Linked DNA regions of Homo sapiens: all the other regions are linked to region 4. The links are contacts of gene promoters, found by promoter capture Hi-C in blood cells and fetal thymus (Javierre and others, 2016). All regions are on one chromosome and are shown on one strand. The core of a region is centred on a gene start or on the middle of the fragment in contact, and the rest is flanking DNA. Distances in the headings are between cores, read along the strand shown.

Region 1 (5,110 bases), core at 1,024-3,523, 3.1 Mb before region 4:
CCTCCCACGACGTTGCTCTAACCCCACTTTCCTCTTCCTCCTCCTCTCATGAGGACCCTTGTGATTACTCTGAGCACAGCAGGACAGTCCAGGCTGTCTCCCCATCGCAAGGTCAACTCATCAACAACCTGAGCTCCATCTTCCTCTTCAGTCCCCTGCCCTATAACATAAATAGTCACAGGGTTCATGGATTACCATGTAGCCATCACTGGGGACAATTATTCTTCCCACCACAGCAACTATTTCTCTGTACTGAATCCCCCTTTACCCCAAATACAGTCGGGGCCTGGATGATTGGACCCTGATGGACGCCCCCACCAGAAGCTCTGGGATTCAGGAGGTGGGACAGTGAGAAGCCCAGACAGAAAGCCTCTGACCTGTGACCATGATCACCACAGGGTTGCTGGGTGCCGACCACCCAGTGGGGGAGTGTGGGTGTGAACTGCAACATCTGTAGGTCCCTGCATGTGCTGGGGTCACAGGGCCCATGAGAAAGCTGTTCCGGAATATTCTGTTGTAGAGCTCAGGGACAGGCATCCCGTCTTCTTTGGACAGACTGAATTCATTAAACCCAAGACGAGAGCGACACTGAAGAGTCACATGTTGTCCTTCAGACACCACAGTGCCGGGCCAGGCAGAGAGGAAGGGCTTGTCCTGACCACCTGGGGGAGAAGGAGGCACCACCTTAGAGAGGAGGATGTGGAGCCGCCCCTCCCTCCCTGTGCTCAGAAGATTCTCCCATTTCCACGTTTCTAAGGCTCCTACCACACCTGGGTGCCCAGGGCTACAGGAAGGACCCATCCCGCATAGACATGGCGTCTCCCTACAGCAAGTGTCAGCTGAGAACTTTGAGCAGGTGCTGAAGAAGCGACTCTTACTAGATTTTAACACTGCAAAATTACTTACATAAAAGAACACAAGGTAGACACAGGATGGAGGGCATGATCAGCTAATGCATGAACCATAATAAACAACTGAGCCCCTATTAGAAGATCTGGAATGTCAGGGTCATGACTGTGGTTCCCCCACCTCTTAGGTAGAATGACAGCAGCCACATTGCAGCCCCTACCGTCATGGAAACGCTGGAGGGTGTGAGTTATGCTCTTGTCCTCAGAGGCCTGTTGTTCCTTGCACTGCTTCTCTCCCTTCCTCTGCCGGTGACACCACTTCCTCCCTGCACACCACTCCTTTGAGCACTTCAGTCTCCCCCTGGGTCCCCACAGACTCAGCCAAGGGAAAGAAAGGCCGGGGAGGGCTAGGACAGAACTGTGGCGAAGCTTCCCCTGGCTTCCTTTTCCTAGTTCATGAGAGATTCCCACATGGCTTCCCATGGTCAGCCCATCAGTCAACCCCCTGTGTCGCCTGCCTCCCGTTTCAGGAGCATCATCTTATGTGGGGAGATGACAACCTAAGGTTTGGGGGAAGGACTCACCCACATGTGGCCAGGGCCCCTCCAGCAAGAAGAACCCTGGAAAGAAAGATCATGATGGATGATCCATCTGTACATCACCTCCAGGCCCATATCTCCACTCCAGGCCCATATCTCCACCTCTAGGCCCATATCTCCACTCCAGGCCTATATCTCCACCTCCGTCCTATATCTCTACTCCAGGCCCATATCTCCACTCCAGGCCTATATCTCCACCTCCGTCCTATATCTCTACTCCAGGCCCATATCTACACTCCAGGCCCATATCTCCACCTCCAGGCCTGTATCTCCACCTCCAGGCCCGTGTCTCCATTCCAGGCCCATATCTGCACTCCAAGCCAACATCTCCACTCCAGGCCCGTATCTCTACTCCAGGCCCATATCTACAGTTCCAGGCCCATATCTCCACCTCCAGGCCCATATCTCCACTCTAGGCCCATATCTCCACCTCCAGGCCCGTATCTCAATTCCAGGTCCATATCTGCACTCCAAGCCAATATCTCCACTCCAGGCCCATATCTACAGTTCCAGGCCCATATCTCTACTCCAGGCCCATATCTCTACTTCAGGCCCATATCTACAGTTCCAGGCCCATATCTCCACTCCAGGCCCATATCTCCACCCCAGGCCCATATCTCCACTCCAGGCCTATATCTCCACTCCAGGCCCATATCTCCACTCCAGGCCCAGATCTCCACTCCAGGCCCAGATCTCCACCCCAGCGCTCCCTCCCTCGATTCCCTTCCAGGACTCACCAACACACGCCATGCTGACGACCATGAGCGACATGGTGCTGCCGGTGCAGACAGGCGGCTGCGCCCCAGCTCAGTTCAGCAGCACACAGGATGTTGTGAGGGGCTCATGCAGTTTACATGCTGACCACATCATGGGAGGATGACGTATGCAGGCTATTTCTACCTTGCATGAGGCCCAGTGGCTGTTTGGTCAAGAGCGGAACATGGCTTCCTGGAAATTGTTCCAACTAGAATTGACACCTTGCATCCTTCACTATAACCAACTCAAAACACGTCTCAGATCCAATCTCTCATACAGGAGATGACTGAATGCTTGGCTTACATTAAAGACTTTTGATGTATTTTTGTTGTTTTTATCTGAGATTCAAACTCTTCTTCATGTGCTATTTTCCCCAGGCTGTTCTTTGACTTCAGAGTTCAAGCAATCCTCCTGCCCCAGCATTTCTAGCAGCTGGCAGTATGTCACAATCTGCCACACCCAAGTCACAACTTTTAGAACTTTTTTTTTTTTTGAGACGCAATCTCACTTCGTCACCCAGTTTGGAATGCAGTGGTGAGACCTCGGCTCATTGCAGCCTCCACCTCCCAGGTTCACGCAATTCTCGTGCCTCAGCCTCCTAAGTAGCTGGATTTACAGGCACCCACCATCACGCCCACCTAATTTTTGTACTTTTAGTAGAGAGGAGGTTTCTCCATGTTGGCCAGGCTGGTCTTGAACTCCTAACCTCAAGTGATCTGTCTACTTCAGCCTCCCAAAGTGCTGAGATTACAGGTGTGAGCCACCATGCCTGGCCGGGACATTCTATATGTGTGCGTATGTGTGCGTTTATATACATATGGTTATACACACACACACACACACACACCCTAAGCACTCACATATATAGTTGTTTCAAATTTTAAAAAATATAAATTTTGTATTTTTCTTTCTTTTTCTCACATTTGTGTTTCTATGACACCATATACATATTGAATTTTATAGTTCTATTTTATTCTTTTGGATTGCAGTTTAATAGTCCATACATAACTTTATCAACATGTAATTATCCACTCTTTTTATCATGGACATTTGTGTTGTTTCCGGATTTTCTCTTTTATAACTCGGGCCTTGATAATCGTGTTTCTGTGTGATCCCTTGCATACATATGCTGAATTAATTAGACATATTTACCTAGGAATGAAATTATTGGTTTTGGGTGCAAGTTGGTGTTGAGCTTAACCAGGAAGTGCCAAAATATTTCCATCATGACCAAATGTGGCCTGGAAAGTTTTTTGGGGTCAATTTTCCTGTTTCTTCTAAGGAACAAAATTGATGTCACTGATTTTTCTGTCCTGTTTGTCATTTATGAATATACGTACATATGCACGTATATATTTGCTTGCCATTTTATGTTTTTCCTCGACGTTACTTTGGAATTAATTTGCTGATGTGTAGTATTTCTGCAAGCGAAAGTTACCTATTTACTCAGCTCTTCCTTCTTTTCTAACACAGACATTTGAGGCTTATTTTCCTTTAACACTGTTCTATCTGTATCCCCAGTCATTTGCCGAGATGTGTTTTCATTTTTAATTGATACAAAATATTTTCCACCTTTCTTTGAAATGTTTTTCTTCCACTCATTGTTTATTGCTATGTGTGTTTATTAATTTTAAAATATTTGATAATTTCCCCAGCATTTCCTTGTTGTACATTTATAATTTAATTCAACTGTTTCATCTATCATATTACCTATGATTCAGCATTTAAAAATTTATTTTGGTGAATGTTCCAGGGGTGCTAGACAAGTTTGTGGATTAGGAAGATTTGAGGTGGATGTTTTCTAAATGTCAGTTAAGAAAAAAATCATTCAAATGTTTTTCTTTATTTAAAAAAAATAGAGACGGGGTCTCACTATGGTGCCCAGGCTGGTCTCAAACTCCTGGCCTCAAGTGATCCTCCCATTTTGGCCTCCCAAAGTGCTAGGATTATTGAAATTATTAAATGTTTCATATCAACACCCAACCTTATGCACCCGCCGCCTACACAAATGTTTTTCAAGTCTTTCATATGCTTAATAATTTTCTGTGTACTTGTTCTGGAAGTGAGGTGAATGTTGCTATCTCTAGCTGCAATTTGGATGTGATTGATTATGTTTTGAATTATGCCTTTAATTTAATGTGTTTTGAGGTTCCAGCTTTAGGTGTGTAGGCATTTAGGATTATTATGTCTTATTTATGAATTTGCCTCTTTGTCATTATGAAGTACTCCTCTTCATATCTCCATATATCTCTTCTTTGTATGTGCATGGTGAAATATTTCATTCTTTGAGTTAAGAAACTTCTATTGAGGAATACTTTTTATTACAAACATTTACCTATTCTATGTATACAACTGACTAGAAGCATATTTTGCACTGGGCATTATCATGACAATGTAATGTCATTCTTTCAATATTTACATCTTGTGGATTAGTATTTGAAGTGCAGCTTATGTAGACAGCATAAGGTTGGGTGTTGATATGAAACATTTAATAATTGCACACGTATTTGCCTCTTGGGATACTTCCACTTTTTTGAATTTCAAGTTACTAAATGGTATCATTAATCTTTGCTTCAAGAGCTTAACATTTATTGTAGAACAATGCTTCATGTAATAAATTGTGAGACATTTTTAATGGCACCTTTATTGCAGGAAAATGTTTTCCTTTTCAGGTTGAAAGATTCTAGTTTGAAATATTTTCTTGTAGCACTTTAAAAATGTTGGTCCACCTATTTCTTACTTTCATAGTTTTGAATACAAAGTTTGCTGTCATTCTTGTATTTCTTCTTCTGTTTTTTATTTATTTATTTTTGACAGAATATCTTGCCGTCTCACCCAGGCTGGAGTGCAGTGGCATGATCTTGGCTCACTGCAACCTCTGCCTTCCAGGTTTCAGCAATTCCTGCC
Region 2 (4,923 bases), core at 2,202-4,701, 3.3 Mb before region 4:
CACTCTCTGGGGATCCCTCAGGGCTCCAGGTAGCACATGGCGGCGAAGGGTGTGGGGAATTGAGCATTTCCTCACCTGTGACCAGGAGCTTCACTGGCTCACTGGGGAAAGACCAGGCATGGTTGTTATAGGAGCCAAAACATCGGTATGTCCCTCTGTGGGCTGTGGTCACAGGGCCCAGGGGGAACTCCGCCTGGACCTTCCCGTATCCGCGCTGTACGTGGCTGGATCTTCCCTCCTTGAGCAGTAAGAACATGCTTGTTGCAGTGTCTAGACGGCAGTAGAAGGTCACCTTCTCTCCCGAGATCACTTCGGGTCCAGGATGAACCGAGAGGGTGGGTGTGTCATACATTTCTATGAGAGAAGGTGGGGCCACCACACCAGAAACTCAGTGATGAGCAGCCAGCTATTTTTTTTTTTCTTTCTTTAGAGATGGAGTCTCTCTCTGTCGCCCAGGCTGGAGTGCAGTGACACGATCTTGGCTCACTGCAACCTCCGCCTCCCGGGTTCAAGCGTTTCTCCTGCCTCACCCTCCCAAGTAGCTGGGACTACAGGGGCCTGCCACCATGCCTGGCAGCCAGCTTTTTTTTTTTTTTTTAATTATTATTTTGGTCAAATACACACAATAGAAGATTTACCGTCTAAAACCATTTTTAAAAATGATACAGGGTCTTGCTCTGTTTCCCAGGCTGGAGCGCCGTGGCACTATCTTTGCTTACTGAAGCCTCGACCTCCTGGGTCAGGAGTTTGAGACCAGCCTGGTCAACATGGTGAAACCCCGTCTCTACTAAAAATGCAAAAATTAGCCGGGTGTGGTGGCACATGCCTGTAATCTCAACTACTTGGGAGGCTGAGGCAGGAGAATTGAGGCTGAGGCAGAGGTTGCAGTGAGCTGAGATTGTACCACTGCACTGCAGCGAGACTGTCTCAAAAAAAAAAAAAAAAGCCCCGGCCAGCCGCCCCGTCCGGGAGGTTGGGGGGCAGCCCCCGCCCGGCCACTGCCCCGTCTGGGAGGTGGGGGGGCGCCTCTGCCCGGCCGCCCCGTCTGGGAAGTGAGGAGCCCCTCTGCCCGGCCGCCACCCCGTCTGGGAGGTGTACCCAACAGCTCATTGAGAACGGGCCATGATGACGATGGCGGTTTTGTCGAATAGAAAAAGGGGAAATGTGGGGAAAAGAAAGAGAGATCAGATTGTTACTGTGTCTGTGTAGAAAGAAGTAGACATAGGAGACTCCATTTTGTTCTGTACTAAGACAAATTCTTCTGCTTTGGGATGCTGTTAATCTATGACCTTACCCCCAACCCCGTGCTCTCTGAAACATGTGCTGTGTCCACTCAGGGTTAAATGGATTAAGGGCGGTGCAAGATGTGCTTTGTTAAACAGATGCTTGAAGGCAGCATGCTCCTTAAGAGTCATCACCACTCCCTAATCTCAAGTACCCAGGGACACAAACACTGCGGAAGGCCGCAGGGACCTCTGCCTAGGAAAGCCAGAGACCTTTGTTCACATGTTTATCTGCTGACCTTCTCTCCACTATTGTCCTATGACCCTGCCAAATCCCCCTCTCCGAGAAACACCCAAGAATGATCAATAAATACTAAAAAAATTAAAAAAAAAAGAATAAATGAGTAGCTGTGTTCCCCTGCCAGAACCTCCAAACAAGGTCCAAAGACCCTGAGCAAATGAAAAGGCACAGACAAAAAATATATATATTTCAACACAAGTATATGACACAGAATATAGAAATAACTTTTCCTAATCAATCAAAATATAAGCAACCCAATTTAAAAATAGGCAAAAGATTTAAATAGACATTTCACAAAAGAAGATATTTGAATGGACATGAAATACTGTTGTGAGCTGCATAATGACATTTTGGCCAACAATGTACCACATATATGATGGTGGTCCCATAAGATTATAATGAAACTGAAAAATTCCTATTGCCTGATGACATCATAGCCTTCCTAGCACAAAGTATTGCTCATGTGTTTTTGGTGTTGCTGGTATAAACAAACCTAATTGTATAGCACATACAATTATGTATGTATATGTAACTATGTATAATACTTGATAATAATAATAAACAACCATATTGTTAAAAAAAAAAAAAAGCTAATTTTTTTTTTTTTTTAGAAAACCACCACCTGGCTGGGTGTGATGGCTCACACCTGTAATCCCAGCACTTTGGGAGGGTGAGGCGGGCGGATCATCTGAGGTCAGGAGTTCGACACCACCCTGGCCAACATGGTGAAACCCCATCTCTACTAAAAATACAAAATGTGGCGTAGTGGTGGGTGCCTGTGATCCCAGCTACTTGGGAAGCTGAGGCTGGAGAATCACTTGAACCCAGGAGGTGGAGGTTGCAGTGACTGGAGATTGCACCACTGCACTCCAGCCTGGGTGACAAGAGCGAAACTCCGTCTCAAAACAGATAAAAAAAAAAAAAACCCACCACCTGTGATGGGTGAGGGAAGCAAAGTGTAAGCCACTGCGCCTGGCCCACAGGCATTGTTTTTGAGGACATTCCTCAGTCATACCCCTGCATACAAATATCTATCTCAGAATCTGTGTCATGGAGAAACTGACTGAGGACACATCTGCTCCTAGGACGTAGAGACACGGTCTGCAGACAACCCCTTGTAGGCAAGGATTGTGATGGGGATCACCCCTCCTTCCAGCCTCCTACCGAGACAAGCAGTGTCTGAGTGGGGCTTGGAAGAGTTCATAGATGATGCTGCATCCCGGATGCAGACTGAGATCACTCTCCAGTTAGAGAACCGGACAGTTACCTGTTACCACCAGATCCAGCAAGTTGCTGGGCTCTGACCAGAGCTCCCCAACCCGATAGATGCAGCTGTATTGCCCTGCCATGCGGGAGTTCATGTCCGGGATGTAGAATTGGACTTTGTTAATCCGCTCAGGGGGTTTTGGTCTGTCCACGGCAAAAAGGCTTCCTTCAAAGTGCAGCTGGTATTCAACAGCCCCATAATTTCCCTGGCAACAGATGGTCACTTGCTTTTCCTTTGGAACCATGAAATGGGGCTCGGCCCAGATGAACGGTTTTGGGAGAGTCTCTGGAAGGGAATCAGAGGCTGGAGTTCCAGCGGAGCCCCCTCCCCCCAACCTTAGGCTCCACCCAGCTGCTGGCCCCAAGCTCTCCTGGGAAGCCAGCACCCTGTCCCCTCACCCCAGCCGTGCTTGGGTGGAAGGAGCTTGGCCTGAATCCGGAAGAGTGACCCTGGGCTTTGAAGGAAGGACTCACGCTGCTGGGCGCTGATCCTCTGACTCAGACACAGCCCTGGAAGACGGGAGTAATGAGACCTGTTGCCTCCCAGGCACACCGTGATCCCATTCCCCTTCCACGCCAGAACTCACCGACGCAGAGCAGGGCAGGGAGTGTGGAAGACATCGCTCAGATTCTGCCGGCCTAGTGCTGAGCAGTGGGGACTGAGCCGGGCGGGCCAGGGAGATAGATACACAGGAAGTGGTGGGTGAGCACCAGCGCCCATCACCAGAGCGCTTTCACGTTGACTGCTTTCATCAGAACGTTCACAACTCCCCTCCGCCTCTGACCATGAGCTTACAGAAAGGCCGTGGTCCCTCTGACACATCTGTGGTCTAGCCAGCAACTCTGACAATTGTCTGCTCAGCCCAAAATGCATTTCTGGGTCAACTTCTCAATTCTGCAATGTGGAGGTCGTACCCAGAGCTGACTGTGGGAAGTTGTGCCCAATCATGCCCAGAGGAAACCCCCTGAGAATCGTATAAAAACATAGGGAGTTTCACAGTGAGATACTGGAACAGGAATTAAAAGAAATTACAGAATGTGTAAACAAAAACTCAGTTGTATTTAAGAAAACCCAGTTCCCCCCGAGGAAGAGAAAGAGGTGGAGTCCTTTAAACATGAACTGCCTGTTTTTCTGTCTGTGGCTAGTGAGCCTTATCTCTCCCTTTCCCAGGCATTGTGAAGACCCTGTTTCTCTTGCCGTGCGGCTGCAAGGTCACTAGACAGGATAACCTCAAGTCGTAAAACATATTTTTCTTGAAAAGTAAGGAATAATGTGATGCATGTCTCAATTGAATAACTGCCTTTGTTTCTTGCTTCTGTAATATGCTTCCCCCTGCACAGATCTCCCCCAACCCCACAAAATGCTTAAAAGGTAACCGGACTCTCTGTTCGAGCCTCAGTCTTTTTGGATGTTAATCTGACTGGGGCCGGTGCACCTAAATAATAATAATAATAATAAATCCTCCTCAACCCCTCGGTCTCTCTGATTCCTAAATTATCCCTCAACAATACCATCTCACACCAGTCAGAATGGCCATTACTGAAAAGCCAGAAATTAACAGATGCTGGTGAGATTGTGGAGCAAAGGGGACACTTATACACTGTTGGTGGGTGTAAATTAGTTCAGCCACTGTGGAAAGCAGTTTGGTTTGGAGATATTTCAGAGAACTACAAACAGAGTTACCATTCAGCCCAGCAATCCCATCGCTGGGTATATAGCCAAAGGAAAATAAATCATTCTACCAAAAAGACACATGCACTTGTATGTTCATTGCAGCAGGATTCACAATAGTGAAGACATGGAATCCACCCAGGTCCCATCAGAGGTGGACTGGATAAAGACAATGTGATATGTATACACCACAGAACGCTATACAGCCTTGAAAAATCACAAGATTATGTCCTTTGCAGCAACATGGATGCAGCTAGAGGCCATTATCCTAAGCGAGTTAACACAGAAACAGAAAACCAAATACTGGCCAGACACGGTGGCTCAGGCCTGTCATCCCAGCACTTTGGGAGGCTGAGGCAGGTGGATCACCTTAGGTCGGGAGTTCGAGACCAGCCTGACCAACATGCAGAAACCCTGTCTCTACTAAAAATTCAAAATTAGCCGGGTGTGGTGGCACATGC
Region 3 (4,981 bases), core at 483-2,982, 4.7 Mb before region 4:
GTATATATTTCAACCTTGGAGAATCTGACAATTATTTGTCTTGGGGTTGCTCTTCTCGAGGAGTATCTTAGTGGTGTTCTCTGTATTACCTGAATTTGAATGTTGGCCTGTCTTGCTAGGTTGGGGAAGTTCTCCTGGATAATATCCTGAAATGTGTTTTCCAACTTGGTTCCATTCTCCCTGTCACTTTCAGGTACACCAATCAACTGTAGTTCGGTCTTTTCACATAGTCTCATATTTCTTGGAGGCTTTGTTAGTTCCTTTTCATTCTTTTTTCTCTAATCTTTTCTTCATGCCTTATTTTAGTAAGTTGATCTTCAATCTCTGATATCGTTTCTTTTGCGTGATCAATTTGGCTATTGATACTTGTGTATGACAAATGATGGCAACTCCTCTCCAGCAAGGGCACAAAACTGGACGGAGAATGAGATTGATGAATTGACAGAAGTAGGCAGATTTGCCCTGAGGGGTTCCCAGCTTGAAGGGATCCAAGATATTTCCCTTTCACAAGACAATCCCATTCTGTCAATGAATTAATCTGTTGGAGTTTGCTGGAGGTCCACACCAGACCCTGTTCACAAGAAGATCTTTTCACTTCCCTCTTCTCCTGCAAGGGAAGACTTTAAGAGACCTGAATTGACATGGCAAGGTGGTCTCATTTTCAACTCTCAAGCACAAAGTCTTTCTTCTCTTTGGTTTGCCTGCCAAAATGAAAATTCGAGGTTACCAAAAGCTTCAGTTCCAGTATATCTCCTTCTTATTCCACAGAAATTGTAGTTCATGGATATGAAGGCTCTAACAGCTAAGTATAATTTTGCCATCATGAAAAAGCCAATGAGAAGCCAATAAAAACAGGATTTCAGAAACACATAAGTACCTCCATTTCCAACTATGTGTCAAAAGCTTTCCTGATTAAGCTTGTTTGTTTGAGATTTCTCTAGCTGTAGCCAAAAATATCCTAAATTATTATCATTAGTATTCCTTTCATGACATTGATGTGACCTGCTACCCTGACTCATACTAAGAGAAGAATCAAGAGAATTGTGAAAAGGAAAAGTGGTTTTGAACTTCGTTCTCCTGGAGATCCGACAATCTAACCTTAGAACTCTGCTTCCTCCAGTTTTCTCATTCCGTCTGCAGTGAGAGCTGCCCTGCTGGCTCCACTGCTACTTTGAATGCAGGCACTGCCTTGAGAGACATTTTGCTGACAGAAAGATGATAGGGGGGCTTTCAAATGATTCCTTCTGAAAGTTGACATTCAACTCATGTTTACTCTTTGGGTAACTTTATCCTGCAAATTCTGAGAGAACACCATCCTTCTAGGTCCAGTTGGCCACAGAACAGGTTGCATGAGTCTCCATAGCAAAATGGAAATCCAAATGGAATCCAATTTCCATTTGGATTTCCATTTTGCACAAAGTGAGTTTTCTCTGTCCATTTTGGGTTTGGATGGAGGAGGGGAAAAATGCTCAGACTTTCCCCAAGACAGTAGTATCAGACAATCCCCAGGAACAGATTGGAAGGGTCAGTGTGGGCAGGTGTTGAGTTCTCTAAGTCATCTAGAGCAAGGGCAGGCAAATCTTGGCCCACAGGCTAAATATGGCTGCAATTCCTCCTTTACATATTGCTAAATACGGCTACAACCGCTCCTTCACATATTGCTAAATGCGGCTACAACCGCTCCTTCACATATTGCTAAATGCGGCTACAACCGCTCCTTCACATATTGCTAAATGCGGCTACAGCCGCTCCTTCACATATTGCTAAATGCGGCTACAGCCGCTCCTTCACATATTGCTAAATGCGGCTACAGCCGCTCCTTCACATATTGCTAAATGCGGCTACAGCCGCTCCTTCACATATTGCTAAATGCGGCTACAGCCGCTCCTTCACATATTGCTAAATGCGGCTACAGCCGCTCCTTCACATATTGCTAAATGCGGCTACAGCCGCTCCTTCACATATTGCTAAATGCGGCTACAGCCGCTCCTTCACATATTGCTAAATGCGGCTACAGCCGCTCCTTCACATATTGCTAAATGCGGCTACAGCCGCTCCTTCACATATTGCTAAATGCGGCTACAGCCGCTCCTTCACATATTGCTAAATGCGGCTACAGCCGCTCCTTCACATATTGCTAAATGCGGCTACAGCCGCTCCTTCACATATTGCTAAATGCGGCTACAGCCGCTCCTTCGCATATTGCTAAATATGGCTACAGCTGCTCCTTTGCATATTGCTAAATACGGCTACAACTGCTCCTTTGCATATTGCTTACAGTGGCTTTCAATCTGCAAGAGAAGACTTGAATAGTTGCCACAGACACCTTCTGGTTTGCAAACTGTAAATATTTATTACCCTTTACAGAAAAGGTTTGCTGTCATATGTCTCACAAATCCAGTGCAGTCTGTAATTAGTTACAATGAAAAGATGACAATGCCCAGGTCACATTGTTCCTAAGGCCTGTTCTGTATTTCTCCCCATTTAGAATGAATTCCCTGCAGGCATTTTTGCACTCCAAATACATTACGTCACTGTCAAGCTTTCTCCTTCCATATATGCTTTGAACCCTGGGAACAGGCCACCTTTTCAGTTCAGTTCACAGTGGCTGTGTCTTCTGCTTCAGCCAAAACTTTCACTGTGGTCATGGCCTTCCAAGCTACAAGGCCAGCTAGCAGGATGGGAAAGCTACAAGGCCAGCCAGGACCCAAGGTCCTGTTGGGTACCCTAAAATCTCATTCTGTTGTCACCTTTGCCCCCTCATCCAAGTGACCATCTCTGGAATCTAGTTGGAAACATCTCCTTCCTCCCTAGACAAAGACCCATAGTCCTGGTATAATCATCATCCAGTGTAATGGGGGCTCTATCACTGTTTTCTACTGTGTCTTGAGCTATTTGGGCTTCTTGGTTCTGGGGACCTTTGCTGTAGTCTTCCTGGAAAGTAACCCGCCTGACATCTTCAATGAAACCAAATGTCTCACCTTCAGCATGTTGGTGTTCTGCAGTATCTGGGTGGCTTTCCTCCTGAGTTATAGTAGCACTCAGGGAAAGGCCATGGTGGCTGTGGAGATTGTCTCCATCTTGACCTCCAGTACTGGGTTACATGGATGCATCTTGCTCCCAATTGCTACGTGATTCTCCTTCACCCAGAAAGGAACAGTCTTCAATGCCTAAAGAAGAAGCTGAGAAACCATAAACAGAAGGACTATACTATATTTAGATTAAGAGGAGGGACTATAATGCTTATTAGTGGTAGAGAATTTGTAAGCTAATTGTGTAAAGTGCTCCTGAAAAATCAATAAATATTAAACAACTTGTTTCAAAAAAAAAATGAGATATTGGCAAGTTACTTACAGAAGCAAACCTGAATATCCAGTGAATAAGAAGATTCTGGGCTCATTGGAAGGTATTGAGTTGTCACAATTAATTTTTCACAGTAACAGATTTATCTTGTTATACTCTCCCCTCTTCCAGGATTCAACTTTCACTAGTCTTCAGTTTTAAAAAAGAAGATGCTAAGCCTAACTAGTAATCAAAAATGCAAATTAAAAAGCCACGAAATAGCATATTACTTTGCAGAATAAAAGAAAAACTTACAAATCTGTAATCACTAAATATTGACCAGGATGTAAAGCAACATGTACCTGCACACGCACACACACAGAACTAGATAAACTTCACACCTGTTAAGGAATAATTTCCAGGAGGCATTGTTAAGTAAAACAAGCAAGTTATAAATGAAAGTACAGGGCGGGTGGAGCCAAGATGGCTGAATAGGAACAGCTCCAGTCTACAGCTCCCAGCATGAGTGACGCAGAAGACAGGTGACTTCTGCATTTCCAACTGAGGTACTGGGTTCATCTCACTGGGGAGTGCCGGACAGTGGGTGCAGGACAGTGGGTGCGGTGCAGTGCACTGTGCATGAGCTGAAGCAGGGCGAGGCATCGCCTCACCTGGGAAGCACAAGGGGTCAGGGAATTCCCTTTCCTAGTCAAAGAAAGGGGTAACAGATGGCATCTGGAAAATCGGGTCACTCCCACCCTAATACTGCACTTTTCCAATGGGCTTAACAAACGGCACACCAGGAGATTATATCCCACACATGGCTTGGAGGGTCCTACACCCACAGAGCCTCGCTCATTGCTAGCACAGCAGTCTGAGATCAAACTGCAAGGCAGCAGTGAGGCTGGGGGAGGGGCGCCTGCCATTGCCGGGGCTTGAGTAGGTAAATAAAGTGGCCGGGAAGCTCGAACTGGGTGGAGCCCACCACAGCTCGAGGAGGCCTGCCTGCCTCTGTAGGCTCCACCTGTGGGGGCAGGGCACAGACAAACAAAAGGCAGCAGTAACATCTGCAGACTTAAATGTCCCTGTCTGACAGCTTTGAAGAGAGTAGTGGTTCTCCCAGCATGCAGCTTGAGATCTGAGAACAGGCAGACTGCCTCCTCAAGTGGGTCCCTGACCCCCGAGTAGCCTAACTGGGAGGCACCCCCCAGTAGGGGCAGACTGACACCTCACACGGCTGGGTACTCCTCTGAGACAAAACTTCCAGAGGAATGATCAGGCAGCAGCATTTGCGGTTCACCAATATCCGCTGTTCTGCAGCCACTGCTGCTGATACCCAGGCAAACAGGGTCTGGAGTGGACCACCAGCAAACTCCACAGACCTGCAGCTGAGGGTCCTGACTGTTAGAAGGAAAACTAACAAACAGAAAGGACATCCACACCAAAAACCCATCTGTACGTCACCATCATCAAAGACCAAAGGTAGATAAAACCACAAAGATGGGGAAAAAACAGAGCAGAAAAACTAGAAACTCTAAAAATCAGAGCACCTCTCCTCCTCCAAAGGAATGCAGCTCCTCACCAGCAACGGAACAAAGCTGGATGGAGAATGACTTTGACGAGTTGAGAGAAGAAGGCTTCAGAAGATCAAACTACTCCAAGCTAAAGGAGGAAGTTCGAACCAATGGCAAAGAAGTTA
Region 4 (5,009 bases), core at 1-2,500:
TGGAGTGCAGTGGTGCGATCTCGGCTCACTGCAAGCTCCACCTCCCGGGTTACGCCGTCCTCCTGCCTCAGCCCCCCCAGTAGCTGGGACTACAGGCGCCCGCCACCACGCCCGGCTAATTTTTTGTATTTTTAGTAGAGACGGGGTTTCACCATGTTAGCCAGGACGGTCTTGATCTCCTGACCTCGTGATCCACCCGCCTCGGTCTCCCAAAGTGCTGGGATTACAGGCGTGAGCCACTGCGCCCGGCCTTCTTTTTTTACTGTTCTTCGTGGAGCAGGGGTATGCATAAGCAGTGTGCCCAGAGGAGCCCCCACTAGGATTTTTGACTTACCTTCTCATCCTAAGAGTTTATCCTTTGCTGTATCTCCAGCTCCTAAAACAGGGGGCCTGGTGCACCATAGGCGCCCATGAAGCATCAGTTGAATGAGTGAATTCTCGGGGCCAGACACTGTCCTAAGCACTTTACACATGAGACCTCACTGAATCCCCACACAGCAATTCTATTATTGTCTGCATTTTTCAGCTGAGCAAACTGAGGCACAGAGAGGGTAGGTAACTTTTGTAAAGTTCAACAGCCGGTAGGTGAGGGGTCTGGGTTCACACTTGGTATTCCATATCCTCAACGTTCACATTTCAAATGCCCGGCTCTCAAGCCTCATCTGGCTGTCAACATCAGGGATGGGGTCTGACGCTGCCTGGGACAAGGACAAGGATGAGATGAGGTTCCCAAATCCAACTGGTGGTGGGGACCACATCTCTCTTGACTGCTAAGGACCCGGTCATGTCCACCTGATGTGTTTGTCCCTGACAACTTGCCTTCCCTCTGGAAAGAGGAAAGTCTTCCCCACCTGAAACCCCCAGCGTGTGCTTCCCTCACCACAGCTCCTATCATGTCATAAAGGATTTATTCTCCCATCTCGCTGAGGGTCCCGAGGCCCTGACTCCCAGGGAGCTGGCCAAGTGGTGTTCTCCTTCCTATGTAGACAAAGGTGCATAAGGAAAGTGCTGCAGCTATGGGACCTGGTGACCTCAGGAGTCTAGACTTACAAGTCTGGACAAGCCCCTCTGGGGGCCTCAGTATCTTCACCATCGGCGTCCAGTGGGGGTGGGAGCAGAATGGCTTCCCAGCCCCAGCCTCACCCCAACAGCACGTGATGCCCAAGTTCCCCTTCTGTGCGCGTCCACAGCTCTCACTCACCCTCCGGCTTCCTGTCGGGGCTTTCTCAGCCCCACCCCACGTTTGGACATTTGGAGCATTTCCTTCCCTGACAGCCGGACCTGGGACTGGGCTGGGGCCCTGGCGGATGGAGACATGCTGCCCCTGCTGCTGCTGCCCCTGCTGTGGGGGGGTGAGTGAGCTGAGGGAGGAGGGACAGGCACAGGGGTGAGAAGGGGGGCTGGAGCTGCAGCTGAGCTTCTGTGTCCCCCCAGGGTCCCTGCAGGAGAAGCCAGTGTACGAGCTGCAAGTGCAGAAGTCGGTGACGGTGCAGGAGGGCCTGTGCGTCCTTGTGCCCTGCTCCTTCTCTTACCCCTGGAGATCCTGGTATTCCTCTCCCCCACTCTACGTCTACTGGTTCCGGGACGGGGAGATCCCATACTACGCTGAGGTTGTGGCCACAAACAACCCAGACAGAAGAGTGAAGCCAGAGACCCAGGGCCGATTCCGCCTCCTTGGGGATGTCCAGAAGAAGAACTGCTCCCTGAGCATCGGAGATGCCAGAATGGAGGACACGGGAAGCTATTTCTTCCGCGTGGAGAGAGGAAGGGATGTAAAATATAGCTACCAACAGAATAAGCTGAACTTGGAGGTGACAGGTATGGCAGGAACCCTAGGAGAGGACCCTGGGACGTGGAGACCCCCGTATGAGAACAGGGACAGGAGTTGGGCAGGGGCGGCTGGAGGAGGTGTAGGACTTGGGGCAGGTCGGGGCCTGAGGCCTGGCCACTCTCGGGGTCACACCTTACGTCCTCAAGCCCCTGGGGCCCAGGTATCTCCCTGTCTCCTCCTCAGCCCTGATAGAGAAACCCGACATCCACTTTCTGGAGCCTCTGGAGTCCGGCCGCCCCACAAGGCTGAGCTGCAGCCTTCCAGGATCCTGTGAAGCGGGACCACCTCTCACATTCTCCTGGACGGGGAATGCCCTCAGCCCCCTGGACCCCGAGACCACCCGCTCCTCGGAGCTCACCCTCACCCCCAGGCCCGAGGACCATGGCACCAACCTCACCTGTCAGGTGAAACGCCAAGGAGCTCAGGTGACCACGGAGAGAACTGTCCAGCTCAATGTCTCCTGTGAGTGGTGCTGGGGACACAGCTGAGTCCCCAAGGGCAGTGGGAGTGAGGGGGGTGTGTGTGTGTGTGTGTGTGTGTGTGTAGAAGAGAGAGAGAGAAAGAGAATGATAACCAGGGAAAACTCGTGTGTGGGCAGGAAGGACAGCGGTCCCCACCTGGTGGGTTTCTGTGGCCCCTCCTTGGGTCCCTCCCGGGACCACGCCCATCCCTCTTGTCACCTCTGAAGCTGGTGCTGTATCTTTCTATCCCAGATGCTCCACAGAACCTCGCCATCAGCATCTTCTTCAGAAATGGCACAGGCACAGGTAGGAAAGACCCTCTTCCCTCTGGGGCTGTGATGGGAGCCTTCTATTAGCTCAGGGTTCAGCATTGGGAGAGGAGACCCTCCCTCACCCCTCAGCCCCTGGGTCTGGGTCCTTCCTGCTCCCAACCCCCCAATCCCAGTCACTAAGATCTTGCACGAACAGACCTAGTATTTCTTTTGGCTTCTCCCTTTTCTCTGCTCTCTTTTTCAGATTTATTTTTTCATTGTGAGAAAATACACATAGCACAAAATTTGTCATCTTAGCCATTTTAAAGAGTACAGTTCAGCAGTGTTAAATGTGTTCACATTGTTGCAAAACCAAACTGCAGAGCTCCTTTTATCTGGCAAAACTGAAACTTTGTACCCACTGAACAGCGACTTTCCACTTCCCCCTCCTGCCACCGAGCAGTCACCATTCTACTTTTCTGTCTCTGTGAGTTTGAGTACTCAGGACACGCTGTTCCCTTTTCTTGAATTTCTGCCTGCTCCGATGTCCTCTGATGCATGCCCTGCTTCATCTCTAACTGATCGTCCTTTTTGGGAGCCTTCGACTTTCCCACCTCCCACAGCTCTGTCCCAGAACCCAGTTCTTCCCCTCCACATTCCTGAGTAATCCGATCTCTCCTTGACCCTGTCCTGATGCCTCCCACAACTTTATATCCAGCCCTTTCTCTGAGGCACAGATCTGCACATTTAGCCACCTCCCTCGGATGCTTCTCGGCTCCTCCTTCCCTGTTGATCCCAGGGCTGTTCTGGACATCGCTGTAGACAGCACCCTTTCTCATCAGCTGTTTCATGAGTCCGCAAGTCTTAACACCTTTACTTCACCAATCATCACTTCCCTCCTCATCCCCTTGGTTCCAGGCCCAGCTCAAGTCTCGTGCTCAACCCTGGCCCATTGCCCCAGCCTCCTCCCAGCCTCCCTGCCTCCTATCCCACTTCTCTCCAGTCCGGGACCTACTTGGCTCCAGCAGGATCTTTCTAGATCCAGTGCTAACTCTGTTTCCCTTGCTTATAGCCCCCTCTTGCTTTCCAGGATAAAGCCCAAGGCCCTCAATCTGGCACCCAATGCTCCAAAAGATCTGAGCCTGCTTCTACCTCCATTATCGTGTCTTGGGAGCTCTGGGTCCTCCCTGACAGGTTGCGGATCTAGGAGCCTCTTTCCTCGTCTGCCTGTCTCAGTTCTTGGCACGTCTGCACCTGAGCTGCCCATCCACTTCTCCTTAATGTGAGAACTCCTCCTCATCTGTCTTTTCTCAGCTCAGCCACCTTCTTTCTGGTAGCCTGACCTGATCACCAAGTCCTCATCCTTTCACCCATGACTAGCCCATTCTCAGCACTCACCACACAGTCTTGTCTTTCTTCTTGCAGCTCAGTGGGAGGAATGAGGGAGAATTGGGCCTCCCAGCTCCACTCACCTGGCTGTGCTTCTCTTTCCCAGCCCTGCGGATCCTGAGCAATGGCATGTCGGTGCCCATCCAGGAGGGCCAGTCCCTGTTCCTCGCCTGCACAGTTGACAGCAACCCCCCTGCCTCACTGAGCTGGTTCCGGGAGGGAAAAGCCCTCAATCCTTCCCAGACCTCAATGTCTGGGACCCTGGAGCTGCCTAACATAGGAGCTAGAGAGGGAGGGGAATTCACCTGCCGGGTTCAGCATCCGCTGGGCTCCCAGCACCTGTCCTTCATCCTTTCTGTGCAGAGTGAGTTGCAGGACAGGTGCTGAGGGTAGACAGCCCGGTGAGGTATTCAGGTTGGTGGGAGGGACTGAGGCCTGGTAACAGCACCTTACCTTCTCCTTTCTCCCAGGAAGCTCCTCTTCCTGCATATGTGTAACTGAGAAACAGCAGGGCTCCTGGCCCCTCGTCCTCACCCTGATCAGGGGGGCTCTCATGGGGGCTGGCTTCCTCCTCACCTATGGCCTCACCTGGATCTACTATACCAGGTGAGCCGGACTGCCTGTCTCCAGGAAGCTCCTGAGTTCCAGGTGGGGCTGAGCTGTCCTGCCCCAGGACAGCTCAGCCCCACCTGGAATTAGAACTGAAGTGGCTGGTGCTGATCTGAGGCCCATGTTGGCTCTGCAGGTGTGGAGGCCCCCAGCAGAGCAGGGCTGAGAGGCCTGGCTGAGCCCCTCCCGCTCAAGACAGAACTGAGGTGTGGACACTTAGCCCTGTGGGACACATGCAGGACATCACTGTCAGCTTCTTTCTGGAAGCTCACATCCCACTGACTACCCCTCTTTTCCTTCCTGCCCCATACCCCTTCTACTTATTCCCCTCTGCTTGTGAGTCTTGCCCCACCACACCTGCATCCCCATCTGCACCCCATCCCCTCTCCACCTGCCCTTCTCTTCCCTCTCCATCCACCATCTCCAGCCCTGTGAAGGGAATGTACTTTCGGTCTTATACCCCCATTA

What was found. Contacts are between HindIII fragments. The CHiCAGO score rates a contact against its expected background, and 5 or more counts as called.
Region 1: the fragment with the promoter of KIR3DL3 here is called in contact with the fragment with the promoter of SIGLEC14 in region 4 in 2 of 17 cell types (total CD4 T cells and non-activated CD4 T cells); the score reaches 7.2 in total CD4 T cells.
Region 2: the fragment with the promoter of NCR1 here is called in contact with the fragment with the promoter of SIGLEC14 in region 4 in 1 of 17 cell types (total CD4 T cells); the score reaches 7.7 in total CD4 T cells.
Region 3: a contact is called between a fragment that was not itself captured here and the fragment with the promoter of SIGLEC14 in region 4, in 1 of 17 cell types (total CD4 T cells). The highest score is 5.1, in total CD4 T cells.

Annotation. Positions count from the first base shown.
Region 1 is chr19:54,721,605-54,726,714 of GRCh38, reverse strand. It overlaps KIR3DL3 (killer cell immunoglobulin like receptor, three Ig domains and long cytoplasmic tail 3), which reads right to left and starts at 2,273. Exons shown (of 8, transcript NM_153443.5): 1 at 2,185-2,273; 2 at 1,433-1,468; 3 at 378-662. The coding sequence starts at 2,218. The HindIII fragment of the contact is 6,556 bases long and covers 1,280-5,110 here.
Region 2 is chr19:54,904,676-54,909,598 of GRCh38, reverse strand. It overlaps NCR1 (natural cytotoxicity triggering receptor 1), which reads right to left and starts at 3,451. Exons shown (of 7, transcript NM_004829.7): 1 at 3,378-3,451; 2 at 3,265-3,300; 3 at 2,792-3,076; 4 at 76-354. The coding sequence starts at 3,411. The HindIII fragment of the contact is 17,616 bases long and covers 1-4,923 here.
Region 3 is chr19:56,336,506-56,341,486 of GRCh38, reverse strand. ZSCAN5A-AS1 (ZSCAN5A antisense RNA 1) reads right to left here. Exons shown (of 3, transcript NR_186830.1): 2 at 2,982-3,182; 3 at 285-701. It also overlaps a transcript of ZSCAN5A not described here and the pseudogene VN2R18P. Among named protein-coding and RNA genes, the nearest start is that of ZSCAN5A, 24 kb to the right of the region's middle. The HindIII fragment of the contact is 1,625 bases long and covers 920-2,544 here.
Region 4 is chr19:51,643,066-51,648,074 of GRCh38, reverse strand. It overlaps SIGLEC14 (sialic acid binding Ig like lectin 14), which reads left to right and starts at 1,250. Exons shown (of 7, transcript NM_001098612.3): 1 at 1,250-1,352; 2 at 1,435-1,818; 3 at 2,015-2,293; 4 at 2,545-2,598; 5 at 4,039-4,296; 6 at 4,403-4,538; 7 at 4,678-5,009. The coding sequence starts at 1,316. The coding sequence ends at 4,720. The HindIII fragment of the contact is 8,795 bases long and covers 1-5,009 here.